2 separate regions of the Homo sapiens genome follow, and region 2 is linked to region 1. The links are contacts of gene promoters, found by promoter capture Hi-C in blood cells and fetal thymus (Javierre and others, 2016). All regions are on one chromosome and are shown on one strand. The core of a region is centred on a gene start or on the middle of the fragment in contact, and the rest is flanking DNA. Distances in the headings are between cores, read along the strand shown. Region 1 holds the start of RBFOX1 (RNA binding fox-1 homolog 1). Region 2 overlaps RBFOX1 (RNA binding fox-1 homolog 1).

The links. The method cuts DNA at HindIII sites, captures the fragments that hold promoters and counts their contacts. A CHiCAGO score of 5 or more calls a contact.
Region 2: a fragment that was not itself captured here is called in contact with the fragment with the promoter of RBFOX1 in region 1 in 1 of 17 cell types (erythroblasts); the score reaches 5.0 in erythroblasts.

What each region holds. Positions count from the first base shown.
Region 1 is chr16:6,017,341-6,020,296 of GRCh38, forward strand. RBFOX1 (RNA binding fox-1 homolog 1) reads left to right here and starts at 1,684. Exons shown (of 16, transcript NM_018723.4): 1 at 1,684-2,652. The HindIII fragment of the contact is 5,499 bases long and covers 524-2,956 here.
Region 2 is chr16:6,606,547-6,609,503 of GRCh38, forward strand. The region is part of intron 2 of RBFOX1 (RNA binding fox-1 homolog 1); the gene reads left to right. Among named protein-coding and RNA genes, the nearest start is that of RBFOX1, 590 kb to the left of the region's middle. The HindIII fragment of the contact is 1,331 bases long and covers 602-1,932 here.

The DNA.
Region 1 (2,956 bases), core at 434-2,933:
TTTAAATTGAGAATACCTCTTTTACAACCCATCTCATCTCCCTGCATGGCTAGACAATTACATTTAAATTCGGCGGTTTTCCCATTGTGAACAGTTTCTGGGGGAAATGATTATGATGTTACCAACCCAGATTTATGGTTTCATTTTGCTATCACTGAAGGATGAGACTAGTATAAAGAAAAAAAAATTGCTTACATACAAATATATTATTATCAAAGAGAATCCTAAGGAAACATATGGTAAAAATCAACCCAAATTGCAAAATCGCTGGGACCAATGATAAAGATATCTTTCTGGATTTTGCAAACTTACTTTTTCAAATGATGATTAAATATTGCGTGCTTTAAAAAGTAATATAGTTATAGGCAGAAGTTCCCTTTCTTTTATTCTGAGGTTGAAAGAAACCGCAGCCCGATAGGATTGCAAGAGGAACCCTTAAGGAATCTGCTCCTTGATGGGCGCTAGGAAATACACGTACATCTAGTACAAAGGAATGCACATCACATGGCCCCCTGTTTTGGAAAGCTTACAGCATTTCTTATAAGAGGATCCATGGTATAAGTGCAAACACAGTCACATCACAGGATGGGAAAATGAACAGGCGCCTCAGATCAAGTGCTCAAGGCTGGAATCTGGCCTTGTCCAATGCCACCTGCCCTTCAGAAGGCAGGGTGGTGCCACATAAAATGAGGTAGACTGCCTGGGGAGTCCTGGTTCCTTGCCAGCTATGTGACCTTGAACAAATTACAACTCACTGAACCTCAGACTGACTTTATTGTACAACAAAACCCCCTGGAATATTTGTGGAAAAAAGAGGAAGGGAGAAAGGAAGGAAGGGAGGAAAGGAGGAAGGAAGAAAGGGAGGGAGGAAGGAAGGGAGGGAGGGAAAGGAAAAGGTAGGGGAAGAGCAGAGTTTCTCACTCCAGTCCAGAGTGGGACCCAGGAAGGGAGAAATATTGCTTTAATCTCTCTAAGCATCTGTGAAATGGATAAACCTCCAGTATCTACTTCCAGTTGTTGAAAAGACTCCATGTAAAGTGCTTAAAACAGCATCTGGTGGAAAGTAAATGCTTATTAAGTGCTAGTGTGTATTAAGGCGTCATGGGGCTTCTGGCTGTAAGACATCTGCTAGGAGGACAATCCCTAGACCCCTTCAGCGTCCATTGCGGGAGTAGGTGGCCAGGAAGGGGGCAGGACAGGAGAGGCCCAGCTGTGCGGGGTGGGGGCGTCCCAGGCCAGCCGCACCCACCCCAGCCCTGCATCCCATCCAGCCTGGAGAACTTTTTGAATCTTGGATAGGGCTCGATCTCTGCCTGGCCGGAAGATTTGAAGACTTGCCAGAAAACTTCCTCAGAGAAGAAATGGACTGGGGCAAGAAGCTGCCTCCACTTGGCGTCTCTAGTGGGGGATTTGTCTACTTTGATTGGGGTTGGGAGGAGGGCGCTGGTGCTCAATGAGTGAGCCCACCTGGGGACTACCAGGACGAGGACGGGCGCAGGTGAAAGTCCTGGGCTCATTGCCCCAGCATCCAACTTTCACCCTCTGTCCCCTTTAGGCCAGGAGACCAGGGTACCGGGTCGCGTGTCCGCCGCCGCCGCCCGCTGGAATCCAGGGCTGCACGCGTGACCGCGGCGGCGGCGGCGCTGGCGAGGGGAAGGGGGAGGGGGCGCTCCCTCGCGCACCAGATTATTTTTGGCTCCGCAGCCGGGGCTGCTCGCTGCTTGTCGCGCGCTCACACACACACAGACACACACGCACACACACACATGCACACATTTTCTCGCGCTCTCTCCGGCTCTCCTTTGTTTATTTTCTAATCTATATTTTTACTGGAAGATTTCCTCTTTATTCTCTCCCGCCCTCCTACAAGCGCTCTTGCTGGCCGTCTGGGTGCACACACCGCTCCCTCGATCACCCCAGCCCCCTTCCTGGTCTCCCGAGCGCGGGGTTTGAAGGTCACCTCCTTTCCAGTCCCCGTGCGAGCCGCGCTGCCGCCGCCTCCTCCAGCCAGAGTCGGTGGGACTGGCTGCGCTGCCCTGAAGTGGTTCTCCAAGCAGCGCGGAGGGTGGCGGACGGCGGACGGAGCCCAGGGGCCGCGTCGGGTGGGGAAACCCGAACTCGCGGAGGGGAATCCCTCCCCCTCCGCCCCAGCCCCCCAGCAGCACCCGCGGTGGGGCGGGGGCGCTCTGCCAGCCCCGGGAACAGCAGAGGCGGCGGCACTGGCTGGACCCACGCGCGCGCCTCCGGGGCTGAAGAAGGAAGGAGTGAGCCGAGCCGAGCACCCCACATCTGGAGGGGACAGCCAGCCGTGGGCCCCGCCCCGGCGTCCGGAGCAGGAGAACTCCGAGCTTCTTGCCCAGGCAGAGAGAGCAGGAGCGGACCGCGCGCCCGGGATTGAGAGTCCTTGCGCTCCAGACCCCCACCCAGTGGCCGCCAGGGTCCCCGCCTGTCCGGACCCTCGCCGCGCCCAGGCAGGCGCGCCAGGGCGGGGCTGACCTGCCCGCGAAGTTGCGGACAGTGCGTGAGAAACCAGCACCCCCTTCCGCCGCCTCCAGCTTATGGTGAGTGTGGCTGGGGGTGCAGAGAGCGCACGGGAATTCGGGGGTCTGGGGCCGAGAACGTGACCGCAGCCGGGCTCGCCGGGAGTTCTAGGTAAGTCCAGGCGGAGTCATTGCCTCTGCACCCACCCTGACCTGGTGGGTCAGGTCCAGAAGGTCTCATGGAGGGAAGCGCTAGGTCCCCGAGAACTGGCCTCCTCCTAGCGCCAGTCTGGGCGCTCTGGACGGGAACTTTTTCAGGGTGTGTGGAAAGATCTCGAGGCGTGTCCCCCCCTACCCCCAGGAGGCCGAGACCCTGAGCCCCCTTGTGCGTCGCTTCCAGAAGCACGTCCTTCCTTGCCCCAGAGCGCCCCTCCGAAGCATCCAGGCTACCTCGTCCGTCCTCCTGGGAGCGAGTC
Region 2 (2,957 bases), core at 17-2,516, 590 kb after region 1:
TGTAGTTCCCCTCCCTGTGTCCATGTGTTCTCATTGTTCAGCTCCCACCTGGAAGTGAGAACATGTGGTGTTTGGTTTTCTGTGTTAGTTTGCTAAGGATAATGGCTTCCAGTTCCATCCATGTCCCTGCAAAAAACATCTCATTCCTTTTTATGGCCGTATAGCATTCCATGTTGCATATGTACCACGTTTTCTTTATCTGGTCTATCATTGATGGGCATTTTGGTTGACTCCACGTCTTTGCTACAGTGAATAGTGCTGCAGTGAACATACGCGTGCATGTATCTTTATAATAGAATGATTTGTATTCCTTTGGGTATATACCCAGTAATAGGATTGCTGGGTCAAATGGTGTTTCTTGTTCTGAATCTTTGAGGAATCACCACACTGTCTTTCACAATGGTTGAACAAATTTACATTCCCACTAACAGTGTAAAAGCATTCCTATTTCTCCAGAGCCTTGTCAGCATCTGTTGTTTCTTGACTTTTTAATAATCGCCAAAAATGGCTATACATTTTTTAATATACCTGAGGCTGCTGCCTTCCAAACCTACTGACTAATAGTCCCTGAGAGTGGAAGTCAGCACTCTGCATTTTAGCAAGCTTCCTAGAGAATTTGTGGGTGAACAGATGAGTGTTCATCTGACTACTGATTGGGGACAATGACAGAAAGATATCAGAATGTGCTTTGAACCATCTTGGAACAATTCATTGTGGTTATTAGGATTAAAAGGGAAGAGAAATGTCAGCTCTCATATTCACATCCCTTAAAAATCAAGCATTAGGATATAATAATTCATTTAATATAAATGTTATAACCATATGACCAATTTCCAGTTATCATAAGCAGTTAGGTCTTTCAGTCTCTCTCCTCTCTCTCTCTCTCTCTCGCTCTCTATCTCTCTTCCTCTCTCTCTTCCTCCTCTGTCTCTCCTTACTCTTTCTTCCTCTCTCTCCCCTCTCTTCTCTCTCCTATCTATCTCCTCTCCCTCTTTCTTCCTCCTCTTTCCCTCTTCCTCCTCTCTCTCCGTCCTGTCTCCCTCCTCTCTCTCTCTCCTCTCTCTTTCTCTCTCTTCTTCCTCCTCTATCTCTCCTCTCTCTTTCTGTCTTCTTCCCTCTCTGTATTATGTCTGCCTATGTGGGCATGTGAGTGTGCAAATAAGAAATAATTATTTTAGAATTTTGTGGTTTCCCCCTGCTGTATATGGTTCCAAAATTCAGTGTCTACAACATAGCTCCCGAATAATGTTTCACATCCTAATGAGCGATCATAGAATGGGAGAACAAACTTAACATGACTTACATCCTCATTTAGCCTTTAAAATTCTCTTTGTCCACAAACCTCCTTGTTTCTGGAGTTGGCAACATACTGAAATAGAATATATACAAACTTGGAAACAGCTATGAGCTTGACCTAAAACCTTAACTCTGACCCTTTACTGGGAAGGCTTTGGTAGGTGATACATCCTCTGTAATATTTTATCTTCTACATCAAAAAAGTCCTTCATTGTACAGAATTTTGAGAGAAATTAATGAGACAATGTCTCATAGCACCTGAAACAACGGGTTCTCAAGAAATACTATTTCATTGATTACTCCTCACTTTCTTAACTCTTACCAGACCTATTTTGAGTCTGTATCCTTGGTATCATCATTTTTTCTCAAATTATTTCTAAGGCAGCATTGGTTTGTGTTATAATCATTAATAGATACCTGAATTAAGTGAAATATTTCAAAGTAAAGCCATATAGTATCCTGTGGGGAAAAGCCTATCTTTTGAGCCAGAAAGACTGGCTTAAATCCCAGTATTATTGTTCACCTCTTTGTGGGTTTTGTTTATATGTTTATACACATTAGTTTTACCATCTGCAAAATGGGGATAACAGTTTTCACCCTTATTCGTTTCCTGTTACTATTTCCCAAATTGTCACAAGCTTAGTGACTTAAAACAACAGAAATTGCCCAGGTATGGTGGCTCACATGTGTAATTCTAATATTTTGGAAGGCTGAGGTGGGAGAATCGCTTGAGACCAGGAGTTTGAGATGAGCTTGGGCAACATGGCAAGACCCCATCTCTACAAAAATTAACTAGTCATGGCGGCACATGCCTGTGGTCTCAGGAGGGTGAGGTAGAAGGATGACTTGGGTCCAGGAGTTTGACGCTACAGTGAGCCATGATTGTACCACTGCATTCTAACCTGTGCATCAGAGCAAGAGCTTGTCTCAAAAACAAACAAAAACAGAAGTTGGTCATCTCATAGTTGTAGAGATCAGAAGTCTGCAGTGTGTCTCACTGGACTAAAATCATGGTGCCAGCAGGGCTGTTTTTTTCTTGAGCCTGTAGAGGAGATCTTTTTTCTTGCCCTTCCCAACTTTTAGAATCCACTCTGCTCCCTTGGGTCACAGCCTTTTCCAAGTTCAAAGCCAGCCATGGCCAGGCAAGCCTTTCTTCCATCAGGTCACTCTGACCTGACCCTTCTGTCTCCCTCTCCCATATTTGAAGACCCTTGTGATTACCTGGAGCCCATCTTGATGATCCTGAATAATTTCCCTATTTAAGGTCTGCTAATCAGCAACCTTGATTCCCTTTTACCATGTCATATGATACATTCGCAGGCTCCAGGACAGACATGGACATCTTTAGGGGCCACAATTCTGCCTTCCACAGCCACTTTATAGATGGTTGTTGGGATTACTGGGAAGATGTAGTAAAGTTCTTAGCACAGTGGCTGGGTATGGAGTGTAGTATGTTCTGTAGATGGAGAGGTTGACGTGGAAAATGATTTTCTTTTTTCTCTTTTTTATTTTTATTTTTTGAGACAGGGTCTCACTCTGTTGTCCAGGCTGGAGTGCAGTAGTGCAGTCTCAGCTCACTGCAATCTCCTCTGCCTCCCAGGCTCAATCCTCCCACCTCAGCCTCCCGAGTAACTGGGACAACAGGTGCATGCCACCACACT